Regions from separate parts of the Homo sapiens genome. Here region 1 is linked to region 2. Evidence: promoter capture Hi-C in 16 types of primary human blood cells and fetal thymus (Javierre and others, 2016). All regions are on one chromosome and are shown on one strand. Each heading gives the region's core, a stretch centred on a gene start or on the middle of the fragment in contact. The rest is flanking DNA. Distances are from core to core; before and after follow the strand shown. Region 1 has its middle 21 kb from the start of PBDC1. Region 2 holds the start of CYSLTR1 (cysteinyl leukotriene receptor 1).

Evidence for each region. Contacts are between HindIII fragments. The CHiCAGO score rates a contact against its expected background, and 5 or more counts as called.
Region 1: a contact is called between a fragment that was not itself captured here and the fragment with the promoter of CYSLTR1 in region 2, in 1 of 17 cell types (M0 macrophages). The highest score is 6.2, in M0 macrophages.

The regions. Positions count from the first base shown.
Region 1 is chrX:76,148,672-76,155,677 of GRCh38, reverse strand. No RefSeq gene overlaps it. Among named protein-coding and RNA genes, the nearest start is that of PBDC1, 21 kb to the left of the region's middle. RefSeq lists an enhancer at 6,697-7,006. The HindIII fragment of the contact is 8,412 bases long and covers 1-7,006 here.
Region 2 is chrX:78,322,503-78,330,099 of GRCh38, reverse strand. CYSLTR1 (cysteinyl leukotriene receptor 1) reads left to right here and starts at 2,489. Exons shown (of 3, transcript NM_006639.4): 1 at 2,489-2,795. RefSeq lists enhancers at 2,268-2,317, 7,036-7,125. The HindIII fragment of the contact is 10,496 bases long and covers 1-2,608 here.

The sequences.
Region 1 (7,006 bases), core at 2,769-5,268, 2.2 Mb after region 2:
ATGAGCCCAATAGGCAGGATTTTTCTTTCCTTTTATTTTTTCTTTCTTTATTTTATTTTATTTTACATTAAGTTCTGGGATACCTGTGCAGAACATGCAGGTTTGTGATATGGTATACATGTGCCATGGTGGTTTGCTGCACCCATCAACCCCTTGTCTAGGTGTTAAGCCCCGCATGCATTAGGTATTTGTCCTAATGCTCTCCCTCCCCTTGTCCCCCACCCCCGACAGGCCCTGGTGCATGATATTCCACTCGCTGTGTCCATGTGTTCTCATTGTTCAACTCCCACTTATGAGTGAGAACATGCGGTGTTTGGTTTTCTGTTCCTGTGTTAGTTTGCTGAGAATGATGGCTTCCAGCTTCATCCATGTTCCTGCAAAGGACATGAACCCATTCTTTTTTATGGCTGCATAGTATTCCATAGCATGTATGTGCCACATTTTCTTTATCCAGTCTATCATTGATGGGCATTTGGGTTGGTTCCAAGTCTTTGCTATTGTGAACAGTGCCGCAATAAACAAACGTGTGCATGTGTCTTTATAGTAGAATGATTTATAATCCTTTGGGTGTATACTCAGTAATGGGATGCCTGTGTCAAATGGTATTTCTGGTTCTAGATCCTTGAGGAATTGCCACATTGTCTTCCACAATGGTTAAACTAATGTACACTCCCATCAACAGTGGAAAAGCGTTCCTATTTCTCCATAGCCTCACCAGCATGTGTTGCTTCTTGACTTTTTAATGATCGCCATTCTAAGTGGCGTGAGATAATATCTCATTGTGGTTTGATTTGCATTTCTCTAATGACCAGTGGTGATGAGCTTTTTTTCATATGTTCGTTGGCTGCATAAATGTCTTCTTTTGAGAAGTGTCTGTTCATATCCTTTTCCCACTTTTTGATGGAGTTGTTTTTTTCTTTTAAATTTGTTTAAGTTCCTTGTAGATTCTGGATATTAGACCTTTGTCAGATGGATAGATTGCAGAAATTTTCTCCCATTGTGTAGGTTGCCTGTGCACTCTGATGGCAGTTTCTTTTGCTGTGCAGAAGTTGTTTAGTTTAATTATATTCCATTTGTCAATTTTGGCTTTTGTTGCAATTGCTTTTGGCATTTTAGTCATAAAGTATTTGCCCTTGCCTGTGTCCTGAATGGTATTGCCTAGGTATGTTTCTAGGGTTTTTATGGTTTTAACTTTTACCTTTAAGGGTTTAATCCATCTTGAGTTAATTTTTGTGTAAGGTATAAGGAAGGGGTCCAGTTTCTGTTTTCTGCATATGGCTAGCCAGTTTTCCTAGATTTTTGTTCTAAACGCTTTTTATTCCTTTTTATTTTTATTTATTAAATAGGGAATTGTTTCCTCATAGCTTGTTTTTGTCAGGTTTGTCGAAGATCAGATAGTTGTAGACGTGTGGTGTCAATAGGCTGGATTTTTCAAGATAGTGATGTCTTAGAAATGTCACAATGCCCCTGAAAATATAGCCATTGGTATATTTAATACTCCATTTCTAAAACCCAGATTAGGTTGCTGGAGATATTACAAATAGGGAGTAAACAGTCAAAACAGGTTAGTCAGGAGAAAGGGACTGTGAATGTGACCGGGGTAAGGTATCTGAGCTACCACCAGCAGCGAATCCAGACACGGGTCTGCAGCAACCTTAATTCTTGCCTTCTCAGAAGAAAGAATTCCACTGAGAGGCAGAAGGCAGAAAAAGAGACCGAGGCAAGTTTCAGAGCAGGAGTGGAAATTTATTTAAAAAGCGTTTAGAACATAAAAGAAAGTACACTTGGAAGAGGCCCAAGCGGGCATATGAAGCTCAAGTGTGGTGTTTAACCTTGATCCTGGAACTTCATAGACTGGCTCATTTCCCATGATTCTTCCCATGGGTACTGTGCTGCCCCATGCACAGTACCCTCCTTACCCTTGGGAGGTGAGCATGCACAGTGGGTTTAGGAAGTTGTATGGATTCCCGCCTGAGGCTTTCTTCACTTTTCTGGTGAAGTGTCAATAGGAAGGTCATACTCCGTCATTTTGTGTCTTAATTCACATGCTTGAGCTCACTCCCACAATGCTTGAGCTCAGTCCCACAATACTTGATTTTATTGGAAGCTCTTTTTGTTTCTACCTGGCATTCAGTTAACCACGTTAATGTTAACAGCTGTAGATCAGCAGGAGATTATCTCTCCCTGACTCCAGGTGCCAAAGTACCATTTTTAGACAGGCAATGTGATAATTGTTGAACCATCACCCGATCACGTGACATTCCCGGTGGGTGTTGGGGAAAAGGACTCTCCTGCCCCTCTCATGTGTGTCTAACTACATGTAACATGAAAGTGTGTTGGAATCAGATGCAAAGAGAAAAGCAGAGATGAATGGCTACCGGTAGGTAGTTTAACACATTTTTTTTTCCAGCAGGCAATATAAATATGCTAAGATGAAAGGCACTTGTCATCACCAATCTAATGGGCTCAACTGGGACAAGTGATTGCATTTTTCTTCTCAAATGGTGGGCTACATAACAAGAATTTAGCATTAGACAGGTATGCCAGTGTTGCTGCTAGTGGAAAGTGCACCAATATACATGCTACTCCAGGATAAGGTTGGCAGATATGCTTTGGTCAAACACTGGCATGCACAAGGGACGAACAAACAAACGTAGACAGCCGTCATATCTTGCCATCAAGAACAAGATTTAAGAAAAGACCTGTGGCCGTGGTCATGTATGATGTAGCTCAATCACCCCAGAAACAGAAGATGTTATTAAAAGTATAAGCTGATTCCAGTTTGGCTCTGGCAGAGTGAGGGCAGAAGAGAGGACAACATGTTGGAGGGGAAGCCAGAGAGTTAACCAGAGATTAAATCCTGTTGGCTCTTACCGGACAAGGACTGGGCTTTTACTCTGAGTGAGATCAGAAGCCATTGCTGGGCTGGGACCGGAGGAGATACACAGCTCACAAAACACATCAATACAGAGAATTCAAACTTCTGAAAAACATATTGGATGAAGAAATGAAGTCCAAATTAAAATGAGGAAGTCCAGTCAGATGACGAACTTGAACACAAAGAGCAAGCCATTGAGCACTAGTTGGCCACAGATGTGGATTTAAGTTTTCTAGCTGCCAAAATGTAAAGAGGGAAACACGATCCTCTGCAGGACTCAACAGTATCCCTGAGATCGAATCTGACAAACTGCTCAGAAGGGGCACCTATGCTTTTCCCTGAGATGAATGTCTCCCATCGTCAGATGTCAGATTCTGGATCTATTTTGACAAGAGAGCTCAAAGGATTTCTTCACAGATGGAAATGAGGGGTGAGTAAAACAGTGGCGTGAAGGATCACCCTCAAGTCTATAGCATGAACAATTGGAAGGATAAGAGTGGCCTTAACTGTGAGGGGTGGGGCGAGGGGGGACGCTGCAGTGGGAGGAGGTTTCTAGGGGAAGATGGGAGAGTTCGATTTTTGACTTGTTAATTTGGGTTGACTCTCAGGCAATTTTCTCAGCGAATTAGAAAGGAAGGTCAGAGGCTGAATGTGAGGAGTCGGGAGGCAGTGTTGGAGGCTTGCAGAGAGAAAATAAGTTGTGAAATAGAAGGGTGAACGGAGACGAAGGCTTGAGAGAAATGAGTAGTTGGAAGATTTGGACTACAAACCTGGCAGAAAGATGTTTTGGTTTAAATGGATAGGGACCCTGGGTGTTTCCAGATCAGACAATGTTCATTCTTTATGATCCAGCCAGAAAACTGTGGCTTTTGCTAGCCTTTCCCACCTCTGAACACAGGTTTCCCCTTGCTGGTGAGGGTGGCGTGGAGAGATCCGAGTGAGGAAATAAGTTGTCAGTGTTTACGCTTATTTCTTCAGTCATGCTGAAGAGGCGGATAGGCCTAATACATAATAGGATAGAACACAATCCACCCGGACTTCCGCCTTATGCACAACTGCACTTTCAGTTTTGCTCAGAGAGATAGAGCTCACACAATTAGGTAATTGGGCCCAAATCTGAAAGTGAGAAACAGGCCAGAAAGGACACTCAGAGGATGAAAAGGGAAACCAGTAAGCCCCACTGTTTTATACACCGTTGTCATCATGGTTTTAACTTCATGCTGAGACATAGAATTCCTTAAACTATCACAGCCCTGGTCACTTGTGCCAATTCTACAAGGCCTCCAAAACCGCATAGGAGATACTGCACCGTGGGCCCATTCCAAACACTTATTCAGAATTAAAATTCCACTGGCTTTCCATTGATAGCACTAGAGGTCTGTCTGTGACACGCTGCTCCATTACAGCAAAGCAAAGCCCCATAATGACCTAATCCAGAAGGATAAGATCCCAGGACCCATAGAACAAGGAGGCCAGAGGGAAGGCAGGCCACAAAGAAGAAGGAAACCAGACTTCCCCATCCCTCTGGGCTCCTGGGGGGGTCAGTGGAAAAAGGCCTTTAACCTAAGTGCTCAAGGCCCTAACCTAACAGCTTTTGTTTTTCACGCTGGAGCGCTGGCACTTCCTGACCCCGCTTAGTCCTTCTATTAGAATTTTGTACTCTGATGCTAGTTTTCAGAGTATAGGAGCAACTGCAGGGAATGAAGCAGCAGACCTATCAATATTTTGTGGTGATCTAAGTCTCTGTTAATAAGCCTGAGACAAGGCAAAACCAGGAAGAAGCCTTGACCCTTATCAAGGTCATCAAAGCCATACAGGACCCTTCCTAATGTCTTCAACTGTCATTTTTGAAAGAAGCCGAGTCTGACCACCAAGTATAAATGGGTATAACATCCACCGCATTTCTTTGTCATATTGTTACAGGAAAGGGGTCTTGATCCAGACCCCAAGAGAGGGTTCTTGGATCTCGCGCAAGAAATAATTCAGGGCGAGTTCACAGTGCAAAGCAAAAGCAAGTTTATTGAGAAAGCACAGTGGTGAAAGGGCAGCTACTCCATAGACAGAGTAGGACGTTCCCAAAAGTAAGAGGAGGAATGCGTCCACCCTAGGTACAATGCTTGTTATATGAGGAGATGTGCTCTGCTACAAGGGTTTGTGATAGAGGATTAATTTTCTTAATTACTATGTTTTGCAAGAATCAGTGTTGTTATCTTTAAGGCAAAATTAGGAATGCCTTTCTTCTCCAGATATCGGAATATCTGGACACTCCCAAGTCTGGGTCTGTTTAGTAAACGTTATTAATTTGTTCCCTTAACCGTAAACATCTAGAGGCTGGGAATACCTAACTTTCTGGGAATGCAGCCCAGCAAGCCTCAGCTTCATTTTCCTAGCCCTCACTCGGAATGGAGTCGCTCTGGTTCAAACGCCTCTGACAATATCACCCCGTTTTATTTTCTATCACTTACCACTATCTGAAATTAAGTAGATAATTTGTTTACTCTCTGTCCCCACCCACTAGAATGAGAACGCGGCCCTTGCATCCTTACGTGTGTCTGGCATATAAGGGGTGCTCAATGATTATTTGTTTCATGGATGAACAGATTTATGGATGGCTGGGTGGATGACGATCTTAGAAGGGGTTCCAGGGCTAGCTGGCTTTCTGTTTCTCCCACTCAAGCACCCAAGCCCTGACCCACAAAGTAAAGGAACAGGCGAAACTTCTCGCCAAATAGCTTCAAGGCAGAAACTACGCAGCTGGCTTGGGAATTCCGTACAACGCGAACGCGCATGCACAGGCAGGACTGAGCGTGTCCATCTTCGCATTACTCCCGGAGATGACTCTCGGAAACGGTCCGAGGACTAACGTCTTTCTCTTCCTCGCCCTCATTCCTCCCAGTAACGTCCGCTACAAAAGAAACCGTGCACAAAATAAACTCGGGCGGCGGGTAGAAAGGAGACAGCCGAATTCCCTACACCCATGATCAACACGCCCACACCTCCCATCAGGCACGGCGCTCCCGCCTCCCCGAAGAGGCGGTGGAACGTGGTGGTGGGGGGGGTGCTGGGGGAGGGCTGGCGGGGGGAGGGCCGGGGGAAGGAGCGGGGCGGGAACGTCCTTCTGCTACTGCTATGGCTTCCGGGGCAGCACTTCGGCAGACCGCCCGCCTCCCAGTTGCAAATCGACTTCCGGGGCACCCCCACCGGCTGCCCGGTGGGTTCTCTGCTCGAACTTCTGGCGCTTTTCCCTTCCCGTTTATCTTGTTCAGGTCCCTCAGTGGACTGCTCCAGATCTAAAGAGCAGAAATTGGGCCGCAAAGAGAACGTCCTCCCAGACTTTCTCCGTCGCGGTGAAATTATGCCCGTTTGGTGGCAGTATGTATTCACAGATGCGTGCAGCTCTGCTCTTACCCCGCCCTTCGCGTTTAGAAAAAAAGCGCCGTTCCTCAGAGTCAAAACAAAGTTTCTTTCCGCTGTAGAGGCACAGCTTTTAGGGTGGCCTACTAACTCCCGCTTTTTCTTTTCTGAAATCTCTGTGCCAATCTGATGGACAGAAGAGCGACAAAAAATATTTTTAACGTGAGATTCTTTGTTGACTAGCCTGCTTGTAAACTTTCTGACATATGCCTTTTTTTTTTTTTTTTTTTCCATAGGGCTGTGAACCCCTGATATCTGAGAGGTGTCTCAGTCAATTTAGAAAGTTTATTTTGCCAACGTTAAGGACCCGCCCATGACAGCCTCAGGAGGTCCTGACGACACGTGCCCAAGGTGGTCAGGGCACAGCCTGCTTCCATACATTTTAGTGAGACATGAAACATCAATCATTTTATGTAAGATGTAAAGTGGTTCGGTCGGGGAAGGATCTTGTGCTGTGAGAGGATTTGACCTTGGCGTGTGTAATGGTAGATGAGAGCTACAAAATTACAAGTGGCTGAAGACAGTTTACAGGAAATGGTCATAGCTGCCCCTCTCTTTTTTCCCCTCTTAGGAAGTTATTGTTTAGGATCCGAATTCTAATTTGGAGATGCATTCTACAGTGTCTTCTCCATTGCTTTTCCTCCCCAAATTAATCTTGTTGTTTTGTGTGTGCATCTGCGTGAAGAGCTGTACTGTTGTTTTCATAGATACATG
Region 2 (7,597 bases), core at 1,240-3,739:
ACTTCATTGAGACAGATTTCCCATCCAACTACATGTTATCCCCCCTCTCCCTCACCACTCCCTATTTGGTCTTCCTTACCTCAATAAGAAAGTAAGAACTGAAGGAGTCTGGGAAAATGAGCAAGAGTAGAGAGACAGCAGCAGACAGGTATCATTCTGGGCACTTCAACCTTTCCTAAAGTGAAAGAGAATGTGAGAGTAGATATGTAATGAAGATGGATGGATGGGAAGAGAAAAGATAAAGAGATGAAGCAAGGAGACAAGGAGTCTGATGTCATTTATAGCAAATGTGGTGTAAATTGATCCAGCTGTACAAGGCAAAGACCCATTTGGGAATGGGTGAATCACTGCCTTCCCCATTGCTCAAGAACAGAAAATTAGCTAATGAAAGAAACAGGTAGGGGAGCACAAAGAAGAACCACAGGAAACACCCTCTCTGCCACAGCTATTTCGGTGCCAACTTGAAGCTCAAGGATTGAAGGGGGCCTGCCCCTCCACGCCTGTGGGTATTTCTCATCAGGTGGTACGAGAGACTGAGAAAAGAAATGACACAGAGACAAAGTATAGAGAAAGAACAGTGGGCCCAGGGGACCGGCAGCCTCAGCATGTGAGGACCTGCACCAGCGCTGGTCTCTGAGTTCCCTCAGTATTTATTGATCATTATTTTTACTATCTTGGCAAGGGGAGTGTAGCAGAGCAACAGGTGGGGAGAAGGTCAGCAGGAAAACGTGAGCAAAGGATCTGTATCATGCATAAATTCAAGGAAAGGTACTGTGCCTGGATGTGCATGTAGGCCAGATTTATGTTTCACTTTATACAAACACCTCAGTGTAGCAAAGAGTAACAGAGCAGTATTTCTGCCAGCATATCTCGCCTCTAGCCACAGGGCGGTTTTATCCTATCTCAGAATAGAAAGAATGGGAATGGTTGGCTTTACAGGAGACATTCCATTCCCAGGGAGGAGCAGGAGACAGAAGCCTTCCTCTTATCTCAACTGCAAAGAGACCTCCCTCTTTCACTACTCCTCCTCAGCAGAGACCCTTTACGGGTGTTGTGCTGGGGTATGGTATCAAAGCAGAAACAATTTTTCCTGGTACAGATCAAAATGGAATTTCTTGTGTCTTCCTTTTCTACATAGACACAGTAACAATCTGATCTCTCTTATCCCCACAAAGGATCTAGCTCCTTTCTCTTTTCTTCATTTCCTGAGTATGAATTGCCCTTCCACTGTAGCTCAAAATGGCTGTAACATTTCAGACTGGAGGAAAAGTGATAATTCACTCTGTGTCTCACTTATAAATTTTCCTGTAGATATTTGGGGATCCAAACTCAGTTGAAGAAATACTAGTTTGAATGTCAGTTTAGTTACTAAAACTCCCTAGGAGAGGATTAGAAAGTCTAGTCTTGAATCCAAATGTTAACATCCCTTCAAATGTGGTTGGATAGCCTTTTCCTCCAACTATCACCATCACCACCACAATCCAGAACTCTGTGAAAAGAGATAAAGATTCAAGGGCCTTAAAGCGATTGTCCCAGGTTGGTTGTGAGGTAATTCTTGTACCTAAAGATACAAAATTTGAGTAAATGACTTTGTTCCTACAGCAGGTAGCAAGCCAGAAGGCTACTGCTGGGCTCATATTTTACAAGTACCTAAAACTAGTTGTTAGTTATGGGGCATGTTTACAAAGTGTTAACATCAACATATTTATGCCCATCTCCATATAGAATCTTCTTAATATAACTCAAGATAATTGATGTAACAAATTCACATCATGATCTTACCAATTTGGTTTTTAACATCAAAGTGCTGCCCCAGGCTTCAATCAGCACATACCAGACTGCTATGTCCCTTTTCTCCAGAAGCCATATTGAGCACCCCACAGCTCTAACACCTCAGAGCCTAGCCAAAGGCCAAGAACACTTGCCTGATCCCCCAAATTTCCAACACAGGACCATTGACAGCAAGCCCAGTCATTCCAGATCATCTTCAGTGGGACAAAAAAAGAAAACAACAGTTTTAATCCAATGGAGGCAATTTATTGTTATGAAGATTTCAGGAAACAAAGCTCAAAAAGGAACCAGAAAGGAAAAGGCTTTTTAGAATGTGGATAGAGCCACAAGTGTCATTAAGGAGAGAGAGAGAGAAACGGAGAGATGAAATTTATGTTACTTAAGATCAAGTTTCACATAATGCCAGTTATATTAGCATATACTGGCAGGATTATCTTTCCCCACCTACAAATAGTCTAATGACCTCACAGTCACAGAAATCACAGAGAACTAAGCTGAAGAGAGAACACTCGTCCCTGCTTCCCATCTTAGAGCAGCTGAATAATTTCCTGAGAATTCTATTCCTGAAGCTAGGAAGAAAAGTTTATTTATACATACACGCAACCTGCAAGTCTCCAGTTTCTATTCTTCCTTCCTCTTTGACCCTTCCCCTCCCCCACTTTGCACCAGAGAAGTCAGACTCCGGGAGTGCTTTAACAGTTTGAAGGCTAATCTGAAAGAGGAAGAAGAATCTGTATATCTGTATATATTGGCTAGCAAATGTGCCCTGCTCTCTCCCCTCTTAAAAATAGCAGCAACCCATCTTTGCAAAGAAGCTTGCCTATAGAGCAGGCACTCTGTGAATGGACTGTGCTTTTACGACCCTACAGGGTATCAAGATACTGTGCAGCTCGCCAACAAGGATTAATTGCAAGGACTGGTAGATCGAATTTACTGAAGACTTGGAGCTTGCTTCTGAGAACAAACGCAAAAGGACAGTAAACTGTGGACCTTGAAGTTAGCAGGTAAGGAGACTCAGTATTCAGTACTAAGACCAGAACAGTATGTAGTAAAATGTTGCTGATGGTAAATTTTAGCAAATTCCCAGGAGTTTGGGGATAAGTTATCTGCCTTGCCTGCTTTAAGTTTGGGTGCTAGTATGAATTCTTTCTGCTTTATTTCTTAGCCAGAAATCTGATAATATGATCAGTCTGTCAACAAATATTGCTCAGTGCTTCTGCTAGGGCTCAACGTGGCAAAATACAGAGGAGACACACTCCGCAAACCTCCTGTGCCTTTGTAATTTAAGCCAGAAATGTAAGATACATTTTCAAATCCCCATTTTGAGGGTTCAGTGGAGTTTCTCTAATGTAGTGACATTTTCCTTCAATATGGAAAATAAATATGTAGTAATTACTGAAGGTAAACCAGTGGAGAGTAAAATTTTCACAAGGTAGTTTCACATTTGTTATCCCACCTGAACCTTTCAACATCCTATAATTTAGACAAGGTAGGTGTTACTGTCCATGTTTATGAATGAGAAAATTGACTCAGAGAGGCTAAAAAATTTTCTTGAAACACACCGTACAACTAGAAAATGGCCAGTTCTGGCCAGAGACTGTAAAAATAAAGCTCTCTCAACTATAAATGAATAGAAGAAAATTGCATGATCTATTTAGTAACTCAGACACATCTGGTGTAGACTAAGTTTACACAGAGCCAAAGATTCATACATTTTAATAAAATCTTTAGCCAGGAACATTTTTCTACTTAGCGACAAAAAAGGCTGTTTTCAAGAGGAAACAAATGGGTTTGTAAGTTCCACCTACTGAATTCAGTGGTTCTGCTTTCCAGTATTCTGATTATTTTGAAACCTAGAGAGAAACTATGATACCATATGTCTAACAAATGATTATTTTAAAAGAAATTGTAACTAAATCTGGACTAGATTGTACACTGTTTTAAAAACAAAAATATTTATATTTTTACAATGCATTATAAAATACAAAGGACTGTATTACATTTAAAATACATTAGGAAAATTTGTTACAAGACAATTTTAACTTTATTACAGAAGTCTTAATCATTCAGAAATGTTTTCTGTTGTTGTTTTACTATTAATGGCTCAATTAGAACTAAAAGCTATCTGTTTTTACATCATAAACAACCTCAAGTGCTATATTTACATTCATCCATGATAAAAAAATTTTCCCCAGTTCCCCTAAGTATTGACTACACCAGCCAATCAGGGTTCCTCCAAATAAAATAAGTCAGTTTGGGAGCCAGTAAGCACACAGATAATGGTAGGTTAAGAAAAGTTTGCTATTTGCTTTTAGACTTAATCTAGCATGTTAGTGTATTCCTAATCAAGAATCATCAATTCTCATTTTCTACTACCTCCCCTTAATGAAATTTTGATGCATTTAGAAACTATTTATCTGTCATAAAAGCAAGACTCTTCCACAGTATAGAAAATTATAAATTTGTATTTTCAGTATAATTGACCAATAATAAAGGATAATAAAGGGAAGGTGCTGATTCTTAAGGTACATACCCAACCTTGTGAATTCAATACTATGAATGGTAACTATCATAATCTCCCAAATAACATTGCCCTGTATGGACCTCTACTTTGGTCCATTTTGTTATTCTCATGTTCCTAACACCTAACAGTGGCTGCTCTAAACTATCTTGCTGCATGGATTTCAATGGGAGAGAAACGGGGTAACTGGGATAACTGGGAGTTCACCCTTGTTTTGACATGTAAACAACTGGGTGTTCTCTGGCAAGTTAACAGCCATTAGTATTTCTTGGTTCCTTTGTGTATCTAATGCAGTAATGAGCTGATAGGAATATTTTCTAAATCTCTTAAAATGATAAATATAAAATCTGAAAGCGACTTGAAAATACAAACCACCATCAGAAGGATTTTGTTTAAATTCCATTCATTCCAGGTGGATAAACATATAACAAAACTGACTGCATGGGGAGACAGTAGGGCTAGCTACTTTCTACTCCCTAGACTATATTGCTAGGTCAGGGACATCACTCTAAGTCTCAGCAACCTCATCCTACTCTTAGGACCTGTCAGTAGCATCAAACACTCTGGATTATAGTTGTCACTAGCCCTACAATACTTATGCACACCTCAATGTGAACTCTAAAAGGAATAAAATATTTAAGAGTAGTATTTAAAAAGTATTTCTGTGAAAGCACTATCCACCTTTTGTTGTTACTACTTTAACCAAGCCCATTGATTCTTAGGATTATATGCTAAGGATTAAAATAGTTTTTTGCAGCAAGTTTTGAATGCAACACAATATCCCACTACTCTTTCATAAAACCACTTGTTCAATCACAGATTTGGTTATAATACAAATCACGTTTTTAAAATATATAAGTATGTCTAGTTGTGTGTGTGTGTGTGTGTGTGTCTAAAATAGAAAGACCTAAAGTCACTTTTATCTCTCACTCCAGTGTTATTTGCGTTTCAGGCCACATGAACATCTATGTGGTATGATTTAAGGGTCAGTGAGAAAAGCTTTCCCAGTTCAATCAGATATGAACAAACTGTTGAAAGATATATTTATATTAGTCAACCCTACAAAAGATAGATTAGTCAGTATGCCAATTTGTTGCTTTGCAGTGCAGAAATAAAACTGTTGGCTGGGTGTGGTGGCTCATGCCTGTAATCCCAGCACTTTGGGAGGCCGAGGTGGGCAGATCACAAGGTCAAGAGATTGAGACCATCCTGGCCAATATGGTGAAACCCCATCTCTACTAAAAATACAAAAATTAGCTGGGTGTCATGAGGCATGCCTGTAGTCCCAGCTACTCGAGAGGCTGAGGCAGGAGAATCGCTTGAACCCGGGTGGTGGAGGTCGCAGTGAGCCGAGATCGCGCCACTGCACTCAAGCCGGGCGACAAAGCGAGACTCCGTCTCAAAAAACAAACAAACAAACAAACAAAAAACTGCTAAGAAGTCTGATAGACTCATAGCAAGAAGTACATATCCTCATCCCTACAGAAAAGGCAATAAAGAAAGCCATTCCTTTATCTAATTTGATTAGATAAATCCAGACATCTTAGGTCCATTAATTCATGTTACAATCAAGGTGCTAAAACACCCTCAGATGGCAATTACTTTTGCCTTTAATTAAGATTTCTTTATGGATTAGTAGAAAAGGCCACTGTATAAATTCTTCTATCCTGCTGCTTCATTCTGTCTCATCCCACTCCATCTCATCATGACCTCTCCTTTCTCTGTGCCCCACAGTCCTTCTTCTAGATTGGGGTGGTGGGTTCATATGGAAGAAAAGAGAAAAAAATACTTTAAATTTGGGGGATAAGTTAGGAAGAGGTCCTTATAGAAATAGAGGAAAAGAGAGAGAAGAGTAAACATAAGCCCTTGGACATTTAACACATAGTTGATTTTCCTTTTGATGAATAAAATGTCATTATCTTGCTTAGAGTGCTTTCAGAATCAATACAACCCAGACATTTGAGCTCCTACATATGTGGAACTGATAGAAAAGAAACAGGAGTTCAGATCTAGACTTGAGGTCCTTGAGCTAAAGAAAAAATAGGAGACATTTGGGCATTCTTTTATTTTTCATCAATCCCTTTTCCCTAAAAGGGAAAGAAAAATCCAGTTTTGAATAGCATTTCAAGATGTCTAAAGTATATGACTTCTTAAGATTTCTCATAAATTTCAGATTAACAGTGTTTGTTTCTACAAAGGGTTGTCTTTGTGTTGTCATGGATTCACCAAGCTAAGTAGAATTGAGCTAATAATAACAACACTCAAACATCTCAGATGTGTCTTACATACTTATTCCAAAGTTCCTAGGAAATACTCAGGCCTCAGAAGGTAATAAGGCTTCTTTTCATTCCAAATTGGTTACCATTTGTGTTTGATCTGAATTTGAATTCTTACTTAAGACAAAGGGCCTTAAATAAAAAGCAATCTCCTAGAGAACAACTCTTTTGCAAGAGCCAGACATCTAAATGCCAAGATGATAGAAGCAGGCCTCAGAGTTAGCTGTAAGCAATGACCTCAGAACATCAGAGGATTCCAAGCTGCTGGTAATTAGGTAGAGAGTTATAGAGGTATTCCTGGAAAAAGGCCCTCTACTTAGTGCTTTACAAAAAGTTCAAAAGTATGTGTGTAGGTTGCAACACATTTCTATCACCCAAACTAGGGGTGAAAGTATCCTCCACTATACACTGTCACCCACACTCATGCACTCCTCAAGATCTCTATTGCCTTTTGTTAACTTTCATTTCCCTTAAGTTCTGGTCTTATGCATCCTTTTAATCTGATTACACAGGATAAAGCATTTTTGGCACAGTACAATGGAAGGGGACACACTGTCATTAGTTCTGAATGCCACAGTCCAAGGTCCTTTTTGGTTTGACAGTGTCATGTGCTTAGATTCCAACTGTCTGACAACAGAATGGCCTGAATTGATGGGTTTGACGTTCTCCTCTTAAGGAGAATAAGAGACTACAGAAGAAACACCTGAGAGCTGTCAGCAACGAAGTATCAGTTCCCCCATAGTTTTTAATACCAATGAGAATACATATCCTTGGAAATGTATTCCCAAAAAGCATATCCCTGTGAGCAGCACATCCCTGGAAATATGAAGTAAGAAAGCTACTTATTGTAATGATAGGGCTAAAGTGATCACAGACGGAAGGATCATTCTGCCCTCCTCCCCCAAATCTTTTACTACGATGGAAGAAAGTCACTGGGATCATTAGCATAGCCTGATGGTTTGTAGATTAAATCTCCATAGAGGATGAGTAGCTTTACTGTAGTCAATCA